Linked DNA regions of Homo sapiens: all the other regions are linked to region 1. Evidence: promoter capture Hi-C in 16 types of primary human blood cells and fetal thymus (Javierre and others, 2016). All regions are on one chromosome and are shown on one strand. The core of a region is centred on a gene start or on the middle of the fragment in contact, and the rest is flanking DNA. Distances in the headings are between cores, read along the strand shown.

Region 1 (5,032 bases), core at 774-3,273:
ACATTAATTTACAAGACTTCGGTGTAATAACAGCGACAGCATATTTTGTGAGCTCCTACTGTGTGCCCGGCACACAGCAAGGAGCACCAAGAACTATCTCATTTACTCCTCCCCGCAACCTTGTAGCATTGTCCCCATGTTACTGAGCAGGGAAGTGAAGTGCTCAGAGGCAGAGGGATGCAGCCAAGAAGGAATTCCACATCCACCTATGTCCAGCTTCTGCCCCCAGGGTGAAAAGACCAGTGATCCTGGGGGCCAAGGATCTGGCAGCCAATTCTAGGCCTCCAACTGACTTGCTGCACAACACAGAGTACATCACAAAGCAAACCTACCCACTCATTCTCTCTCTCGTCCCAGTGTCAGCTTCCTTAAAGGGGAGGGAAGGGGGTCTGTGAGCAGAAGGAGGGCTCTGTGGTCAAATGTGAGGTTCTAGAGTCTCCTTTGTGGGGATCTCAGCCCCGACTCCACCTCTGCGTAGATACAGAACTTAGTGTCATCCCTTCACCTGTCAAAGCCTCAGTTTCATGGAGGTTACATGGGAAAATAACAGCTATCGGGAATTGGAAGAAACATCATCTGTTAAGACAGTGCTGTAAACATTCAATAAACAGCTGTTGTCATTATCACCACCATTCCATTTATCACTGTGATATGCCATTATATGAAATGACAGCAGTGGCTTGGCCCCTGATACCTTTGTTTTCTATCAGGAGAGTCTAAAGTAAGGGAGCAGGTCAGCTTCAACAAGGAGAAGGAAGAAAGACTTTGTGTTTTGGTCACTGGGCCGAGGATAGGATGGTTGGACAGAGAGGTCACTGGATAGAAGTTAAACCCACCAGGTCAGCTGAGTAACTCACTAATTCCTTCTGATCTGGGAGTCTAAGGAGCTCCGTCTTCCTACCGCCATAGCTGATCTCAAGCCCCTCCAACTGTCACATGGGGGCCCAAGAATCAGGAGTCACTCACCGCCATGACCAGCTCAAACGGGTACTTGTAGACTCGGACAGGAGACTGGTATCTTTGCACCATGTTCACGCTGGAGCACCAATGGAGGTCACCAGGCAGGGGTGTGCACAGAGCCTGGGGCGAGGAGTGACTGGTGAGGTTGCAGCTCCCACCTCGGGAAGCAGGGACACCACCCACCAAGTGTAAGGGGCAGCCCCTGGCCCCACCCACACAGCTCCCCAGCCTTCAAATTGAGAAGGCTGATATTCCCCCCAAATTACTCCAGGCCAAGCCCCAACAGCTTCCCTGTCATTAGCCATGGCCCCAGACCACGCTCAGCCTTCCAAGAGCAGTCAGCACCCCCAAACTTTCCTCTACCCCCACCCCTTCACACTGAGGGCCCCCAGAAGCCTTACGGCCACCCACACAGACACACACACATTTGCAATTCTTACACTCCCACGGTTCTATTCACGCATGCACCCCGCAGCTTGCCACAGACTTGCTGGCCTACAGCCCACCCCCGAGTCTCCTTGCACCTGCCCTCCCATTTTCCTCCCAGACACCCTGACATACACACACAGCCTTCACCACATTTCACAGGCACTGTCTCTATCACACACATGTACACACGCAGGTTTCCCTCCCACACGGGACTGCTTTTGCACACGCCTCCAACTTTGCACACACACCCTGAAACACGCACCTGCCCAGCTCCACGCACGCAATTCCCCTGGTGTGCACAGACGTGCACACACGCACACACACCCGTGCGCACATGCACACACACGTACACACACGTAGAGGCAATCGCACACGCATGCACACACAGGTCCCCGCAGCTTTGCTCACCCTCGCCCTCGGGAGCCTTTGGGAATGCAGCCTAGGGGAAGTGCCCTGGAAGCCCGCCTGGCTCGGGAGCTGAGCGCTTACCCGCGCCCGCCTGGCCTGGAGCGCAGTACCTGAGGCGGGGCCCGATCGCGGATCTCTAGCCTGGTGTGTCCCGCCTTGAACACCCTGCGGCCAGGACAGCTGTGGAAGGCCGGAGGGGCGGGAGCGAAACCTGCCGGGCCGAGAGAGCTCCAGGACCCGGGACAGCGGAGATCCTGGCCTGGCCCCGCCCCTGACCTGGTCCCGCCCACGTCCCCGGCCATGGCCCCGCCCAGGTTGGCCCTGCCCCCTAACTGGTCCCGCCCCACTCTGGCCCCGCCCCAGGCGAACTCCCCCTGGTTCTAGCCCCGCCCCTTATTTTTAGATGTCGCTTGTTTGACCACGCCCTCAGCCCAGTCCTTTCTCTAGATTGGTCACACCTCAGGAAGTCCCCTCCCCCTTCACTGGCCCCGCCCTCCAAGGCCCTCAGCCTCGGGGAATGGTAGGCCACAGGACGACCCCGCCCTAATCTAGCTCTGCCTCCAAGCAGACCCTGAGTCCGGGCCGACCCGCCCCGGACCCTGCGTCTGGCCGACAGTACTGTTTACATTTGTAGATAAGCAGAATTTACGCTTTTCTTGCTCAGATTAACCTCGCCCTCGTCCCGCTGCACTTGGGTCTGACTGGCTCCTCCACCTGTCCCCGCCCCACGGCCCGCGCATGCACCTTCGCCCACTCTGCACACCTTCACAGAGCGCCTGCTGGGGGTCAGCCCTGTCCAGGCGCTGGAGAGCCGCCGGTGAGCCACACGCACGAATCCCTGCCCTCGTGGAGTTTATACTACGGTGGGGAGACAGACACTCAATAAATAAGGCAAATATATGATGTGTGAGGTAGTGAAAAACTCTAACGAGAGAAAAATAAGCAGGAAAGGGGCTCAAGGAGCCAGCGGAGAGAAAGGACAATTTAAAACAGGTAAGAGGCCGGGCGCCATGTCTCACGCCTGTAATCCAAACACTTTAGGAGGCGGAAGCGGGAGGACCGCTTGAACCCAGGAGTTGGAGACCACCCTGGGTAACATAGCAAGAACCTATCTCTACAAAAAAATTTTTTTTTAGTTTAGGCAGGGCGCGGTGGCTCACGCCTGTAATCCCAGCACACTGAGAGGCCAAGGCAGGCAGATCAGCTGAGGTCAGGAGTTCGAGAACAGCATGGCCAATATGAGGAAACCCCGTCTCTACTAAAATACAAAATTAGCCGGGCATGGTGGCGTATACCTGTAATCTCAGCTACTCGGGAGGCTGAGGCAGGAGAATCGCTTGAATCAAGGAGGCGGAGGTTGCAGTGAGCCGAGACTGCGCCACTGCACTCCAGCCTGGGCAAGAAGAACAAAGCTCCGTCGCAAAAAAAAAAAAAAAAAATTAGCCAGGCGTGTTGGCACGTGCCTGTGGTCCCAGCTACTCAAGAGGCTGAGGCAGGAGGATCCCTTGAGCCCAGAAGTTCAAAGCTGCAGTGAGCTGTTACCTGGCCACTGCACTCCAGCCTGGGCAACAAAGCAAGACTCGGTCTCAAAATAAATAAGTAAATAAATAAATAAAACAGGGAGTAAGGGGGCCTCCCTTGGGAGAGTGACATTTGTCCATCACTCTCATTTTAACTCACACTTAACCCCTTTCAGCCCTCCCAGGACTCCCAGGGGACCAACCTTGCTCCCAGAAGTCCTGCCTTGCCACTCCTCATCTGTTTAGCCTACAAGACCCAAGAAATTGGCTCTGGACAGTGCTGTCATCCATGTATTCACTCATTCAACATTTACTGAGCACCTACTACGTGCCACCGTGGGGTGAATTCACCCCTTCAAGCAGGGGAAGTCAGAGGTGGCCAGGGAGATGGACAACCCCTGATATATTTCAAGTATGTCACTGCACCCTGTGAAAATCACCTCTCTTCCCTTCCTAGCCTGCATCACATTCTAATATTGCATTTATTCGTTTTATATATCTGTGGGTTCCTGGAGGTCTCTCTCAGGAGACTGTGAGCTCCCTGAGGGCAGGGGCAGTGGCTGCCTTATTCAGCTGCCCGCATGTTGGGAAGGATCTTACTGGGGACCTGGCAGGCAGGCAGCAGGTGCCCAGCAGACTCTTGGCTTAGGTAATCAAGGGCGGAAATGGGACACAAAGTTCCCATCCCTGTCGCAAGGTGGCAGCAAATGATAGCCCATGGCTCCTGGAGTAACACAAGGGTGAGTAGGTGGGGGACATGGGATCCAGGGATGACTGTCCTAACCCGGGCTCATCCAGGAAATGCCCAGCTCTGCCCAGGCATCGCCACAGAGCAAAGTGAACGTTAACACCGTTAGCTGCTGTTACCACCACGAAAGGCGTTAAGTCCGCCTCTCCTGCTGCCCAACATTGAGGGAGGACAATGACTGCGTGGGAGACAGAGGTGTGACAGCCCTGCGGGTACAGAGAGCTCAAAGTGGAAACTGGGGCCTGGAGGGGAGTGAGAACCCCACTCCCTCCTCCTCCAGCCCCAGGGAAGGGAATTAATAACGCCACCAACACTCACTCCAGCTTTTTTTGGGTTTTGGGGTTTTTTTTTTACGTGGAGTCTTGCTCTGTTGCCCAGGCTGGAGTGCAGTGGCGCAGTCTCGGCTCACTACAACCTCCGCCTCCCAGGTTCAAGCAATTCTCCTGCCTCAGCCTCCCGAGTAGCTGGGATTACAGGCGCTTGCCACCACACCTGGCTAATTTTTGTATTTTCAGTAGAGACAGGTTTCATCATGTTGGCCAGGCTGGCCTCAAACTCCTGACCTCAGGTGATCCACCCGCCTCAGCCACCCAAAGTGCTGGGATTACAGACATGAGCCACCACACCTGGCCCAGTTGCCTATTATTACTGTTCTACTAATTATTCCTACCACTTGTTGACACTCCATTGGCGCTTACTATACCTAGCACCATTCTAAAGCTTTACAAACACGAATGCATTTAATCCTCAAAGCAACCCCAGAGCAATGAAAATGTCTTGGAATGTGATAGAGGTGGTGGTTGCACAACGTTGCAAATGCACATGCCACTGAATTGGGGCCACAATATTAAAATGATTAATTTTCTGTTACGTGGCTTTCATCTCAATTAAAAGCCCATATACAGTCAAAACTATTTTAATCCTCATCTTACACGTAGGGAAACTAAGGCACAAGGCACAGAGAGAC
Region 2 (5,032 bases), core at 1,280-3,779, 690 kb after region 1:
CTGGGCGACAGTGTGAGACTCCGTCTCAAAAAAAAAAAAAAAAATTGAACCAGGGAGACAGCCAGAGAACACTCTGAAGGCCACATATAACTAAGTATGACAGAATGCTTTGCTCTGGAAAATAACAAAAGCAAGTACAAAATAAGGCCCTGATCAGAGGTGAGGTGTGGCAGGTGGGAGGATGAGTGTGATATAAAGAACCAGGGCTTTTTGCAGCCAGCACTCCTGAGTGCATTCTTGTCTGCAGCTGTGAGCTTCTGTCTTCCCATGTGCAAAATGAGAGGATAAGGAGACAGTAATGCACCAGAATAGCTTGCTCACTGCTGGGTGAGGTGGCTGATGCCTGTAATCCTGGCACTTTGGGGGACCGGGGTGGGCAGATCGCCTGAGGTCAGGAGTTTGAGACCAGCCTGGCCAACAGGGCAAAATCCCATCTGTACTAAAAATACAAAAATTAGCCGGGCTTGGTGGTGTGTGCCTGTAACCACAGCTACTTGGGAGGCTGAGGCAGAAGAATCACTTGAACCCAGGAGGCGGAGGTTGCAGTGAGCCGAGATCGTGCCACTGCACTCTAGCCTGGGTGACAAAGCAAGACTCCGTCTTAAAAAACAAAACAAAACAAAACAAAAAAAAGAATAGCTTGCTCACTAAGGGCAGTTAAAAATAGGCTTCCCACCAGGGCCATCCATGGCTCATGCTTGTAATCCCAGCAATTTGGGAGGTAGAGGTAGGATTCCTTGAGTCCCAGGAGTTCAAGACCAGGCTGGGCAACACAGTGAGACTCCTATCTCTATTTGTTGAAAAACAGTAAAAAGGTTTTTTTTTTTTTTTTTTTTTGAGACGGAGTTTCACTCTTGTTGCCCAGGCTGGAGTGCAATGACATGATCTTGGCTCACTGCAACCTCCACCTCCCGGGTTCAAGCGATTCTCCTGCTTCAGCCTCCCGAGTAGCTGAGATTACAGGCATGTGCCACCAGGCCCCCGGCTAATTTTGCATTTTTAGTAGAGACGGGGTTTCTCCATGTTGGTCAGGCTGGTCTCGAACTCCCGACCTCAGGTGATCCACCCGCCTCAGCCTCCCAAAGTGCTGAGATTACAGGCGTGAGCCAACGCGCCCAGCCGAAAGTTTTTTTTTTTTTTTTTTTTTTTTAAGTAGAAACATAGTAAGCCTTCCAGAGACTTTTTTTTGGTCAAGTGGTCTGGGATCTCTCCTTAGAGAAACTGCCTAACAGGTTGCTTCAAGGATTGGAGAGCGTGTAAGCAAAACTGCTCGGCATCCACCGGGTGCTGGCAACATCTAATAACAATATTTCCCAATAATAACAGTAACTATTGTTACTAGTAGGAATAAGTCAAATTAGGAGGCGCGATTTAGGCGGAACCTGGAAGGCGGTGGGCAGGATCCAGGACATTCCAAGGCAGGCGTGGGCTTCCTGAGCCAGGAGCCAACCCTCCAGGAGCCAGGGGAGGGCCTGGGGCCGGAAGGTGCGGCGTGCGAGCGGAGGACGGAAGCTCGCCGCCAGGGTCCCCGTCCCTGCCCCAAGTCGTCACCCCCTCTTGGGGAGCGCATCCTGGCGGAGGGGCAAGTCCCACACGGGCTTTGTTATGAATGGGAAGCTGCAGCCTTCAGCCCGCGGAGGGAACAGTGCGGGTCTGGGGGAATAGCAGGGGACCCGGCAGCAACCAGCAGACCTCCCCGCAGCGCTGGCAGCCTGCGCCCGGGGGCCGCTGCCGTTCAGGCCCGCCTCCACCCTCCCCTCCCTGCCGGGGCCCCCGGCTTCCTAGGGCGGCCCCAGCATCCGAGGCGCCCTTTGCCGTCCCGTCGCCGGGTCCAAGATTCCCAGGATCCGGAGTCCCGGCCGTGCGGCCAGCTAAGCAAGGCGGGAGGGAGGAAGCTGGCCGGCCTCCGAAGTCAGCCCCGAGTTACATGTGGGAAGCGGTGGCTGTGACGCAAGTTTCCAGGGGGCCCTGGGCTCGGCTCGAAGGGAGCACACCGGAGAGGCTCCGCTCCGTGCAGCTGCAATGGTGAAAAAGCAGAAGCCCCAAGCGCGAACCCCAGGCCGCCTTCCTTGCTGCCGCTGCACGCCCGACCCAGCCGCGCCCCCTCCTCCCTGCGGGCCGGCCGAGCGCGCGGACCCTGCTCTGGGCCAGTCGCTGCTGGACTCCGGGCTGCACGGGCTGGGCTCCCTGCGCGGTGGCTGGCCTTTTTTTTTTTTTTTTTGCAACGCTTGCCAACCTGTCAGCTGATGGACCTCATCACCCATAGTGGCGCATGTAGCTCGGCCGCAGCTCGCTCCATTCACGCCGCGCCCCGCAAGCCCGCCCGCGGCCCCCGGCCCCCTGCGCCCCGCGAGAGGCCTGCAGACCCCGGTTGCAGCCGGTCCCCGGGGGCCCGCGCCCCTCTCGCCCCGGCCTCGCGCCGCCCGGGGGGCGCTGCAAATAGTCCTTTGTTTACATGCAATTCCTTACTCCGCGGAAGGAGGCCGGGGGAGTGCTGAGTTTTCACCAGCTGTTTCCCGCCTTGAAACAGACATCTGATCAGCTGCAAACACACACACACACACACACACACACACACACACACACACACACACACATACACACGCCCGGGGAGGCAGGCCGGAGAGACCTCCCTCCCGCCCCTCCCGCCCGCCTCCCTCCCCTCGCCGCCGCCGCCGCCGCCAGCATCTGGGACCGGCCGATTCTGCACCTCCGTCCGGCGCTGCCCTTTGATTCGGATTTCCATCTTGCATTCTCCGGCTGATCGCGGGACCTGGCTCGTGCAGAGGAGGGGGGCCGATCGCTATGGAGTATTTCATGGTGCCCACTCAGAAGGTGCCCTCTTTGCAACATTTCAGGAAAACAGAGAAAGAAGTGATAGGAGGGCTCTGTAGGTGTGTACTCCTCCTCCCCCCACCCCCTTCCTACCACTGCAGCCCCCGGCCAGCCCGCCCGGGCGGGCGCGCGTGTGCGCACGCATGGCCCGCGCCGCCGACCCCGCTAGCCTTTCTTAGCTGCCGGGACGGCTGCAGCCCCACACGCCGGGTCCGCGCCGCCCCGGGACCCTCCTTCCTTGGAGCATGGGGGCCCCAAGCGGCCCCGGCCACTTTTGTCCGCTGCAGGCGGGCGAGTCGCGACGTTTGTAAATTGCAAACAGACCCACGTGGTTCTGCAGCAGTCCCGGCCATGCTTGGTGCTGGTGGCCTTCCCCCCCGCGCTTCCTCTTTCCCCCTCCTGCGGCGGCTTCCTTCCTCTCCTTCCTTCCTCGGGATCTGAGGTCGTCCCCATCCAAGGGGGTCTGGGGGCCCGGGGCGCGCGTGGGGGTGTAGCTAGGGCGGCTACAATGCAGCCATGCCGCGGCTCCCGGCGCGGGGTGGGGGCGGGGAGCCGGGCACTGTGCGTGTTTGCAGAGCGGGGCTGCAGCGGGGTCGGGGGCGTGCTCGCGTGTGGGTGTTGGGGGTGGGCGGACCCCGAGGGGCCCGCGCGGCCGGTAGGGGCGCCGCGGCCCGGGGCACGTTGGCTGCCGCTCGCTCGCCCGCCCGCGCCCGGGCGCTGTTTACTAGCGAGGCCTGGACGTGACTCTGCAGCCCTCTTGGAGTAGGCGGACCTCTGCGCGCGGCCTCGCGGGAGCTGTAGTTCTCCGTGTCCTGCTGGTGCAGCATTGTGGGATTTGTAGGCGCTCCTGGGCCACGCTTTCCCTGCACAAAGCTCGGCCCCCGCGGGCACGATGGGCAAGGCAGGCCAGGTGGGCAGGCCATTTGGGGAAGGGACACCTGAGGCCGCCCCTAGCCTCGCAGGGCAGCTTCCCGCCGCACGTGGGTTTCCTCTGCAAACTTTCCCATCCAACGCCCCTCCCCCCTGCCGTAAACCGAAAGCGTCGGGTCCCCCAGCCGGGTGGGTGGCCCGAGGTCCGCAGGCCTCCCCAGAAGCCACTTTGCAAGCTTTGGTCCTAGGTTGCTCTAAACCCAAAGGGTGATGGACTCAAGGACCACACACAGCCAAACCACCCCGCACACTTCTTAAAATGCACATGCCTGGAACTCTGATCGCTGGGGCCCGGACATCTGCATTTTGAACGACCCCCTGGGCGTGGTGTGGGGGAGGTGGGCGTTCTACGGCGTGCGCAAGTTTGGGACCTGTGGCCCCTTTCCTGCCGCGCTGCTCCAGGAGCGAAATGGCTCCCCAGGGCTGGAGCCACGTGCTCTGCCGCCCGAGGCAGTCTGGGCGGGGATTGAGGGAGGAGGAGCCCGCCGGTGTGGCACAGGCTGGTGGACGCTAGCGCCTGCAGAATCCGGCCTGGAGGGAAGGTTGCTGCACACGTGTAGACACTCCTGCCCAACCCTCTGCCCCGGGGGTCCCCACCTTAAGGCTACTCTGAAGTTCCCAGTCAATACCTAGACTTGGGCCAGTTGATGGGTTTGGCAGCTGGCAGGGATGCCCCGAGGGCTGGCCCTTGCACGAGGCCCACCTGGAGGGCCCAGTAATAATAAGTAAAAAAAATTCTTGAGCTCTTTTTATGTTCTGGGGACTCACTTTGCTAGAATTTTCTCACTGAGTTGTCATAATCTTTCTATGAGTCAAAAGTGTCTTTTGATTCCGCTTAAAGAGGCGGACACAGAGACTGGAGAAGGGACCACTACAGCAGGTGGTGGAACTGGAACTTGAACCCTTGTCCTGGGGTTGCTGCTGCTGCAGGGCTGGGCTGGGCAGCGCGGAGGTGCAGTTGAGCCGCTGTGCCTACTGGAGAAGACATTCTGGGCCTGATCCTGGGCAGGGTTGGGGGGCCCTCTGGCTGCCATGCCTGGGCCTTGGGTGAGTCCTCTCAGGGCCCCCTGAGATTCTGGCTTCAATTTATCCCTGCCCCAAGCGTTCCTTTGGAGCATACCAGCAGTCCCCCAGGGTAGCTGGATCTTGGTAGGCCAAGGACTTGAAGGTGTAGGGCCTTCGTCCAGGGTTGGACATGGCAACGTCCATTGCAAGACAGTTGTCAGCTGTGCATTAGGCATGGAGTTGGGGGTCCCTGGATTTGTTT
Region 3 (5,032 bases), core at 1,527-4,026, 610 kb after region 1:
AAGTAGCCAGGTGTAGTGGTAAGCGCCTGTAATCCAAGCTACTTGGGAAGCTGAGGGAGGAGAATTGCTTGAACCCAGGAGTCAGAGGTTGCAGTGAGTCAAGATCCTGCCATTGCACTCCAGCCTGGGTGACAGAGCAAGACTCAGTCTCAAAAAACAAACAAACAAACAAAAAAACCTGTGGGACAGGAAGCAACTGGGATGCAGCGAGGCAGGGAATTCAGGGCCTGAGAAGGTGACTTTCAGCTAAGAGCCAAGACTTGAAGGCTGATGAGGAGCCAGCCAGGGAGAGAGCCACTTCCGAGGCAAGGAAGTACAATGTGGGCACAGAGAGAGGAATGTGGAGGCCAGGAGGAAGAGGAAGAAGGGCAGCGGTGTAGAGTAGGATTCCAGGTGGCCCAACTTTCATCCCACCATTTGCCGAATGCTGTGCGCCAGATGCTCTTCCAGGCGCTTGACATCTAACAGCAGAGAAGAGAGAGGAAATGCTTGCCCAAAAGGAACTCCCATTCTAGTGGAAGGAAACAGATTCTCAACAATAAACATAAAAATAAAGGGAGGCCAAGGTGGGAGGATTGCTTGAACCCAGGAGTTTGAGGTCAGACTGGGCAACATAGGGGAACCCTTGTCTCTACAAAGAATACAAACATTAGCTGGGCGCGGTGGCTCACGCCTGTAATCCGAGCACTTCGGGAGGCCAAGGCAGGCGGATCACGAGGTCAGGAGCACGAGACCATCCTGGCTAACACGGTGAAACCCCGTCTTTACTAAAAATACAAAAAATTAGCCGGACATGGTGGCCCATGCCTGTAGTCCCAGCTACTCAGGAGGCTGAGGCAAGAGAATCTCTTGAACCCAGGAAGCAGAGGTTGCAGTGAGCCGAGGTCATGCCACTGCACTCCAGGCTGGGCAACAGGGAGACGCTCTCAAAAAGACAAAAAACAAACATTAACCACATGTGTTGGCACATGCCTGTGGTCCCAGCTACTCAGAAAGCTGAGGTGAAAGTATCACTCAAGGCTGGAAGGTCAAGACTGCAGTGAGCCATGATCATGCTACTGTACTGCAGCCTGGGCAACAGAGTGAGACCCTATCTTGAAAAAAAAAAATTTTTTTTTGGCTGGGCACGGTGGCTTACACCTGTAATCCCAGCACTTTCGGAGGCTGAAGTGGGAGGATCACTTGAACCCAGGAGGTGGAGATCGCAGTGAGCCAAGATTGGGCCACTGCTCTCCAGCCTGGGTGACAGAGCAAGACTTCATCTCAAAAAAAAAAAAAAAAGGAAAAATAATTTAAAAATAAAAAACCGGTTGGGCACAGTGTCACATGCCTATAATCCCAGCACTTTGGGAGGCTGTGGCGGGTGGATCATTTGAGACCAGTAGTTCAAGACCAGCCTGGCCAACATGGTGAAACCCTGTCTCTACTAAAAATTCAAAAATTAATGGGGCATGGTGGTCCATGCCTGTAATCCCAGCTACTCAGGAGGCTAAAGCATGAGCATCGCCTGAACCTGGGAGGTGGAGGTTGCAGTGAGGCAGGATTGTGCCACTGGACTCCAGCCTGGGCGACAGGGTGAGACCCTGTCTCAAAATGATAAATAAAATAAATAAGTAAATTATGTGGTATGGTAGAGGGTGATCAGAGTCTTGGAAGAAAAATAGAGACAAGAAGGGAGGATAAGCCAGTCACAAAAGGCTGCACATTGTATGATTCAATTTCTTCTTTTTTTTCATTTTTCATTTTTACCTTTTTTTTTTTTTTTTTTTTTTTTGAGGCAGGGCCTGACTCTGTCACCCAGGCTGGAGTGCAGTGATCACAGCTCACTGCAGCCTGTACCTCCCGGGCTCAAGAGATCCACCACTCAGCCTCCCAAGTAGCTGGGATTACAGGCACCTGCCACCACACCCGGCTAATTTTTGTATTTGTAGAGATGGGGTTTCACCATGTTGCCCAGCCTGGCCTTGAGTTCCTGACCTCAAGCGATCCACCTCGGCCTCCCAAAGTTTTGAGATTGCAGGCATGAGCCACCACGCCTGGCTTGTATGATTCCATTTCTATGAAATGTCCGGAACCTGTGAATCCATAGAGAGAAAAATGAGTGGTTGACAGGGGCTGGGGGAGGGGGCTGGGGAGTGACTAATGGGTGATGAAAACGTTCTGGAACTAATAGTGGTGACAGTGGCACAGCTCTGTGAATAAAAGGCATTGGACTGTGCACTTGAAAATCATGAAATCTACAGTGTATGGATTATATCTCAATAAAGCTGTTACTTTTTTCATTCATGGAGGGCAAGTCACGGCGTTTTAAGGGGTCCAGGTGGGCCTCATTGAGGTGACATTTGAGCAAAGATTTGAAGAAGGGAACGAGCTTCTCAGGCAGGAGGAATGTGGATGAAACCTATTTTGAAGTTTTCTATTTTCTAAAGTATTTTTGAGAATTTAGCATCCTACTCCATATTATGTTCATTGATTTCATATAATGTTGCATTCCCAAATATTTTGGCAAAATCAAGGGCAGAAATCGCCCCACGTCTGACCGATGTGCTTAGCTGCTCCAGCGCACTGGGGTAAGCACGCGGGCAATTGAGACTCCCGGTAACGCCCCTTGCCCTCCCAAGCCCGCCCCCAGTTATCCAGAGCCCGACGCAGGCTCAGTCAAACCCCGCCTCCGACCCCGCCCCGAGCCGCTAAGACGCTCCCGGTGGCCCGCCCTTAGACTGAGGCAATGCGCATGCCCAGCGCCGTATCGCGCACGCGCTCTCTGCGGCTTTCCTTGACCTCTGACCCGCCGACCACGCTTGATCCCCGGCCGCGGGGCCAGGAAGTCGGAGTTTGAGCCCCGGAGGCAGAGCGGCTGCCATGGTGAGCCCCGAGTCGGGCGCTACCGGGGAGGGGAAGCCGAGTCGGGCCGGGGGCCGGGGGCCGGGCGGCGAGCTCCGGGCTGGGCGGCGGGCGCCGTGCGCCCCCTGCGTGCCCGGCGGGAAGCATGGTCTGGGGGCGTTGCACCCGGGGGAATCGAGGCCGGCAGCGGCGGCACCGGCGGCCTCAGGGCCAGGGAAAACCGTCTGCCTGGAAGAGGCCGGGCAAACGTGGTCGCGCTGTGCCTAGCCCGCGTGTGAGCGAGCAGCCGTGGGCAGCGGTGGAGCATGAGTCTGGCTGGTGAGCGCCTCCCCTGCCCTGGAACCTTACAGCGCTGCAGAGTCGATGTTGCTGCCCTGTTGTTATCCCCAGTGGAAAGCTGGCCTTTCCAGGGAAGTGGCTGACCTGGGACTTGAACTAGGCCCCGAGACACCGAGCACGGAGCGTTTGTGTGATATCGTTGGCACGTAGAGCCAGTCAACAGACCTGCGCCACACTGTCAGGTCACCTAGGGTAGCTTTAAAAGTGCAGGTTTGGCTGGGCGCGGTGGCTCACGCCTGTAATCCCAGCACTCTGGGAGGCCGAGGCGGCGGATCACGAGGTCAGGAGTTCGAGACCAGCCTGGCCAACATGATGAAACCCGGTCTCCACCAAAAAATTTAAAAAATTAGCCGGGTGGGGTGGTGCGCGCCTGTAGTCCAAGCTACCCGGGAGGCTGAGGCAGGACAGACGCTTGAACCCGCGAGACAGAGGTTGCAATGAGCCGAGATCCGCCAGTGCACTCTAGCCTGGGCGACAGGGTGAGACTGCGTCTCAAAAAAAAAATTATATATATGTATTATATATACCGTATACATTTATGTATACTACATATTATTATGTTATATATATTTTTATATATCATGTATTTTATATATATATATACACACACACACACATAATATATACATATGTTAGCCAGGCATGGTGGCACACACCTGTAATCCCAGCTGCTTGGGAAGTTGAGGCGCCAGTATCGCTTGAACCCAGGAGGCAGAGGCTGCAGTGAACCAAGATTGTGCCACTGCACTCCAGTCTGGGCGACAGGGCAAAACTCTCTCAAAAAGAAAAAGAGGGGGAAAAAAAAAGTTCAGGTTCTTGAGCTCTATCCCTGGAGGTTCTGCACACGTAAGTTCCCCAAGTGACTCTGTTGCAGCTGGTTCGGGGAGCCACTTCTTAACTAACATAGTAATAAGGATAATGTAACAGCTAACGGCGTACAAGTGCCAGCCCCTGAGCTAAGGCTTTATGTAGAGTCTCTCATTTAGTGTTTATGAAGTCCTGCTGTCATTGTCCTTATTTTACAGATAAGGAACCTGAGCCCCAGACAGTTTTGACTCCACCATAGTCATGCATCCCATGGTGTCAGAGACCTCTTTTGAGCCCAGCTCTGTCCCAAAACTCATGGGGTTTTTTTGGTTTGTTTTTTGAGATAGGATGTCTGTCTGTCGCCCCGGCTAGGATGCAGTGGAGCGATCCTAGCTCACTGCAGCCTTGAACTCCTAGGCTCAAGCCATCCTCCTACCTTAGACCCCCAAGTAGTTGGGCCTACAGGTGAGTGCCAGCACACCTGGCTAATTTTTAAATTTTATGTAGAGGTGGGGTCTTGCTGTGTTGCCCCAGATGGGTCTCCTAGGCTGGAGTACAGTGGTACGATCACAGCTCACTGCAGCCTCAACCTCCTGGGGCTTAGGTGATCCTCCCATTTCATCCTCCCCAGTAGCCTCAGCCTCCCGGGTAGTTGGGACAACAGGCATGCTCCACTATGCCCAGCTAATTTTTTGTATTTTTTGTAGAGATGCAGTTTCGCCATGTTGCCAGGCTGGTCTCAAACTTCTGGGCCCAAGCAGTCCTCCTGCCTCGGACTCCCAAAGTGCTGGGATTATAGGCGTGAGCCACCGCACCCAGCATGACAGTATATTAACAGGAAAAGAAAGTGCTGGCCGGGCACGGTGGCTCACACCTGTAATCCCAGCACTTTGGGGGTCTCAGGCGGGTGGATCACGAGGTCAGGAGATCAAGACCATCCTGGCTAACATGGTGAAACCCCGTCTCTACTAAAAATACAAAAAATTAGCCGGGTGTGGTGGCAGGCACCTGTAGTCCCAGCTACTCAGGAGGCTGAGGCAGG
Region 4 (5,032 bases), core at 1,784-4,283, 540 kb after region 1:
ATCCATCCCAGGCTTGTTGCCAAAGACTGCAGAAGCCACAAGCTACACCTATCCTCAGTGCCAGTCAGAATATGATCCCGTGTTCTCCAGGCAGAAGCTCAAAAATGTGAGCTTTAAGGAGAAACAGGCCGGGCACAGTGGCTCACGCTTGTAATCCTAGCACTTTGGGAGGCCGAGGTGGGCAGACAGCCTGAGCTCAGGAGTTTGAGACCAGCCTGGGCAACATGGCGAAATCCCATATCTACTAAAAATTCAAAAATTAGCCAGGCATGGTGGTATGCACCTGTAATCCCAGCTACTCGGGAGGCTGAGGTAGGAAAATCACTTTAATCCAGGAGACAGGTTATGGTGAGCTGAGATCACACCATTGCACTGCCTTGGCAACAGAGACTTTATCTCAAAAAAAAAAAAAAAAAAAAGGAGAAACAAATGTTACTTGCAAAGGGAACACAAAGTCGTAAGCGTTTCCCCCTCCACACTTTCATTTCACTAGACCAGCAATTCCACAGAGCACTTTCCCCATCTCCTGAGCTGTGGATATCTGTGAGAGCTGCGAAGGGGTTTAATGGTGCTCCCCGACAGTGCTGGGCTGAAGGCAATGGGAGACAAGACGGTCTCTGTGATTTCTTGCTGAAACCACTGATCATTTGAAGTATAATGGGACTGGCCAAGTTCATGGCTGCCAATGGCTGCAACTCTCCCATGTGAGCTCAGAGATCTTTTACAGAGGGCAGAAGAGCCTGAGCCCAGCTCTTCAGGGGCATGATTTGTCTTAAGTATAGCATTTTCTTTACTTCACACAGAGTATAGGACAATTCCAAGTGGGTGAGGAATGTGTGGTCCAGATGTTCTGGTCTGTGATGTCTGTAGCAGGTGCAGTTCCCTATGAAAGGGGATGATGAGCTGTGCCTCGGTCGCCTAGGATCCAGTGGGACCACTGTCCTGATGATTTTCTTTCTTTCTTTTTTTTTTTGAGACAAAATCTCGCTTTTGTCTCCCATACTGGAGTGCAATGGCATGATCTCGGCTCATTGCAACCTCCACCTCCCGGGTTCAAGTGATTCTCCTGCCACAGCCTCCCGAGTAGCTGGGATTACAGGCACCTGCCACCACGCCTTGTATTTTTAGTAGAGACGGGGTTTCACCATGGTGGCCAGGCTGGTCTTGAACTCCTGACCTCAGGTGATCCACCCACCTCGGCCTCCCAAAGTGCTGGGATTATAGGCGTGAGCCACCATGCCCAGCCACTTGATGATTTTCTTTTTTTTTCTTTTTTTTTTTTTTTTTGAGACAGAGTCTCGCCCTGTCACCCAAGCTGGAGTTCAATGGCACGATCTCGACTCACTGCAACCTCCGCCTCCCGGGTTCAAGCAGTTCTCTGCCTCAGCCTCCCAAGTAGCTGGGATTACAAGCACCCACCACCACGCCCAGCTAATTTTTATATTTTTAGGACAGACAGGGTTTCACCATCTTGGCCAGGCTGGTCTTGAACTCCTGACCTGGTGATCCACCCACCTTGGCCTCCCAAAGTGCTGGGATTACAGGCGTGAGCTACCGCGCCCGGCCAACCTGATGATTTTCTAAAAACCTTTTTGGACTGGGCGCAGTGGCTTATGCCTCTAATCCCAGCACTTTGGGAGGCTGAGGCAGGTGGATCACTTGAGGTCAGGAGTTTGAGACCAGCCTGGCCAACATGGCAAAATCCCATCTCTACTAAAAATACAAAAATTAGGAGTAGTGGCGCACACCTGTAATCCCAGCTGCTTGGGAGGCTGAAGCAGGAGAATCGCTTGAACTCAGGAGGTGGAGGTTGCAGTGAGCTGAGATGACACCACTGCACTCCAGCCTGGGCAACAGAGTGAGACTCTGTCTCAAAACAAACAAACAAAAAGCCTTTTCAATAAACCACAAGTGACTTTGGTTCACAGTAAATACACTTCTGCCCGAACTAAGATAAAATGTAAGCATTGCTTTTCAAACCTTAGAAATGCAAGAATCAGCTGGGTGCGTTGGCTCATTCCTATAATCCCCACACTTTGGCAGGCCAAGTTGGGAGGACTGCTTGAGTCTCGTTCGAGACCAGCCTGACCATCATGGTGAAACCCCGTCTCTTACTAAAAATAAAAAATTAGTTGGGCGCGGTGGCAGGCGCCTGTAATCCCAGCTATTCGGGAGGCTGAGGCAAGAGAATTGCTTGAACCCGCGAGGCAGAGGGTGCAGTGAGCTGAGATCGCGCCACTGCACTCCAGCCTGGGTGACAGGGACTCCGTGTCAAATAAATGAATAAATACTAAAGAAAAATTAAAAGCTATTATTATTATTATTTTTAGAGGCAGGGTCTCTTTCTGTCTCCCAGGCTGGAGTGCAGTGGCACGGTCACAGATAACTGCAGCCTCGACCTCTTGGGCTCAAGGGATACTCCTGCCTCAGTCTCCCAAAGTTCGGGATTACAGACCTGAGCCACCGCGCCTGGCCGGATGCAGAGCGCCTGGCCGGATGCAGAGGCTTTTGAGTAGGCCCGGTGGACAGGGATTTGCTTTAGACCTGGGCCCCTGTTCCCCCTCTGCCTCTTACCACTGGTGTGACCTGGGGACCGACAGTTTACACTCTCCTTTAGCCGGGGGTTTCCTGTCTCTGAAATGGAGCTAATTTCTCCCCTCTCTACAGGAAGAGGTAGATAGTGCTGGAAGGCGTGCTAGGTACACCGCAAAGACTCCACAGCAAATCCTGCACACAAAATCGCGAATGCTGCAGCCGAGACCCCACGCAAGCAAGCACCGCAGGAGACGTGGGCTGACAGCTGCGCCCCACGTGACCTCCCACCCGCGCCAGTCCGTCCCCTCGGTATCAGGGCGTGGCCTCGCGGGGCGGCCGTACCTGGATTGGCCGGGAGGCGGGACCGGTGGTGCGCGCGCGAAAGGAGAGGGGCTTGGGGGCGTGGCCCAGGGGGCCGGAGACGGCTGCGATTGGCAGTGGGGCGCGCCGGGGGCGTGACCGCGGCATTGGGTCCCGGGTGGGGCCGAGGCAGCGGGAGTCGCGGTTGCTCAGCGTGCACCTGAGACCCGACGCCCGGGGTCCTCGAAGACGCGTCCGCCGCCGTGCCCGTCGCCATGAACCGCTTCAGGGTGTCCAAGTTCCGGCACACCGAGGCTCGGCCGCCCCGCCGCGAGGTGAGTCCGGCCCGAGGACCGGGCGCTGTCGCCTCGGGCCCCGTCCGGCTGCCCCTCCCCCTGCCCGGACCCCACAGGGGTGCCCTCCAGGGCCGTCTGGAACCCCGAGACCTCCATCCCCGGGGAACCCCCCTTCAGGCCAGGGCCCCGGCGTCCGGGCCGTTTCGTCGCCGCCGGAGGGCAGAGTCCGGCACTCCCGTGACTCGCTCTGGCGCTCGGTGACCCTGGCGGTCTGCCCGCCTCGCCCACCTCGCCCCGGGACCCCCGAGGCGGCGCAGCCCTCCTAGCCGGGGCCCAGGCCTGCGAGGCCGCCTGCCTTCCCAGCTTCCGGTCGGCCTCGCCGGGAGCCGGGGCTCGGGGCGCTGCCGGCGCCTGGCTCCTCCTCCCTGCCGCCCCGGGTCGCCCCTGCCCCTGGCTGGGCTGTGGGGAGACGCCCCTCTCTCCTCTGGCCCCGGCGAGCCCAAGTGTGTCAGTGGTGGGGAGGGAGCCCCTCGGCCGCACGCGCCCCTCCCTCGGGTTTCCGCCGGTGCTTCCTCCTCTCGCCGCTGGCGCAAGCTCTTTCTTTATCTCGGTGATGCTGCCACGGCTGGGTGGGGCCTGGGGAAGCCTGAGCAGGTGGAGCCCCAAAGAATTGCTGAGCCAGGTGCCGGGAGACCCTTCGGACCCCCGAAACGGCAGGAGGACTGATGAGGGGTGCGCCTTGGAAACGATGTCAGCTCTGCTCTTCCGCTTTCCGTGTTATTTGTAAGGCCTGGGAGTGTCCTCCGATAACTGGGCCTAGGAGTTGACCTCAAGTGACCCCATCAGGGTCCCAGAGCAAGTCAGGGCAGTCTGGGTAGAGGTTCCGTTTTTGTAGTGTGGACTATATTTCCTCTGCTTCCACTTTATGCTGTGCTAAGCTGCTGGAGACATCCCGGTGAACACAACGGCATTTTCCTTCCCCTGTGGCACTTGTAGCCTCATGAGGGAGACAGCAAGCAGACAAACAAGAGCATTGGAGGTTTTCATAACGACATTGAAGAACACACATGAGGGACTGGGATGGAGAATGGAGGGGGCCAGTCTCAGTAGCGTGGTCAGGAAAGGCTGCCTGGAGTAGATGGCATTTTAGCTGAGGCCAGAAGGGTGAGAATTGAGAAAGAGCCTGGTGGAGAAATGGAAAGTGAGCATGAGTGGATGGAGGGGATGGCCGGAGCAGTATGGTGACAGATGAGTCCAGAGTGGTCCTGCAGAACCCAAGGGCCACCGGAAGAAGTTGGGTTTTATTCTGATTGCAGTGCAGAGCCATTGAAAAGTTAGGGGGAGGGGCTGGATACCATGACTCACGGTAATCCCAGTACTTTGGGTGGACTGCTTTGAGCTCAGGAGTTCGAGACCAGCCTGGGCAACATTGCGAAACCCCTCTGAACAACAAGTTAAAGAAAAAAAAATTAGCCAGGTGTGGTGACTCACTCCCGTGGTCCCAGCTACTTGGGAGGCTGAGGTTGGAGGATCTCTTGAGCCGAGGAAGTGGAGGTTGCAGTGAGCCGAGATTGTGCCACTACACACCAGCCTGGGCAATAGAGTGAGACACTGTCTCAAAAAAAGAAAAAAACAAACAAGAAAAGTTAGGAGGAGGTACCTAGGTTTGCATCAAGACAGCCGGTGGCTCTGAGTGCAGTTAAGTACTGCTTGGAGGGGTCTGGAGAATACTTGAGGGGCCCTAATTCTTGCTCCTGGGTGGGCCTTAGTCCAGCAACATAAACAGATAGGCATGGAACTACAGACTGTAGGGAGAGCTTAAAACAGTTTATGTTAGGGAGGCGGGAGAACAGGTGATCTGTTCTTTTCAGAGATATTTGCAGTCACTGTGTTTATACAGT

The links. Contacts are between HindIII fragments. The CHiCAGO score rates a contact against its expected background, and 5 or more counts as called.
Region 2: the fragment with the promoter of TFAP4 here is called in contact with the fragment with the promoter of SEC14L5 in region 1 in 1 of 17 cell types (neutrophils); the score reaches 5.4 in neutrophils.
Region 3: the fragment with the promoter of PAM16 here is called in contact with the fragment with the promoter of SEC14L5 in region 1 in 3 of 17 cell types (neutrophils, fetal thymus and naive CD8 T cells); the score reaches 8.7 in neutrophils.
Region 4: the fragment with the promoter of CORO7 here is called in contact with the fragment with the promoter of SEC14L5 in region 1 in 2 of 17 cell types (neutrophils and M2 macrophages); the score reaches 10.0 in neutrophils.

Annotation. Positions count from the first base shown.
Region 1 is chr16:4,955,321-4,960,352 of GRCh38, reverse strand. SEC14L5 (SEC14 like lipid binding 5) reads right to left here and starts at 2,023. Exons shown (of 16, transcript NM_014692.2): 1 at 1,908-2,023; 2 at 967-1,080. The coding sequence starts at 1,029. RefSeq lists an enhancer at 1,496-2,031 and silencers at 1,835-2,130, 1,929-2,138. The HindIII fragment of the contact is 6,723 bases long and covers 1-4,787 here.
Region 2 is chr16:4,270,520-4,275,551 of GRCh38, reverse strand. TFAP4 (transcription factor AP-4) reads left to right here and starts at 2,529. Exons shown (of 7, transcript NM_003223.3): 1 at 2,529-2,894. The coding sequence starts at 2,806. RefSeq lists silencers at 1,585-2,234, 2,955-3,004, 3,365-3,524 and enhancers at 1,383-2,358, 2,655-2,704, 3,605-3,794, 3,336-4,312. The HindIII fragment of the contact is 8,835 bases long and covers 1-3,943 here.
Region 3 is chr16:4,349,065-4,354,096 of GRCh38, reverse strand. It overlaps PAM16 (presequence translocase associated motor 16), which reads left to right and starts at 2,776. Exons shown (of 5, transcript NM_016069.11): 1 at 2,776-2,865. The coding sequence starts at 2,863. The region is part of intron 27 of CORO7-PAM16 (CORO7-PAM16 readthrough); the gene reads left to right. The HindIII fragment of the contact is 23,481 bases long and covers 1-5,032 here.
Region 4 is chr16:4,414,597-4,419,628 of GRCh38, reverse strand. It overlaps CORO7 (coronin 7), which reads left to right and starts at 3,033. Exons shown (of 28, transcript NM_024535.5): 1 at 3,033-3,170. The coding sequence starts at 3,111. CORO7-PAM16 (CORO7-PAM16 readthrough) reads left to right here and starts at 3,033. Exons shown (of 31, transcript NM_001201479.2): 1 at 3,033-3,170. The coding sequence starts at 3,111. LOC124903635 (a long non-coding RNA gene) reads left to right here. Exons shown (of 3, transcript XR_007064963.1): 3 at 2,668-2,904. The HindIII fragment of the contact is 33,533 bases long and covers 1-5,032 here.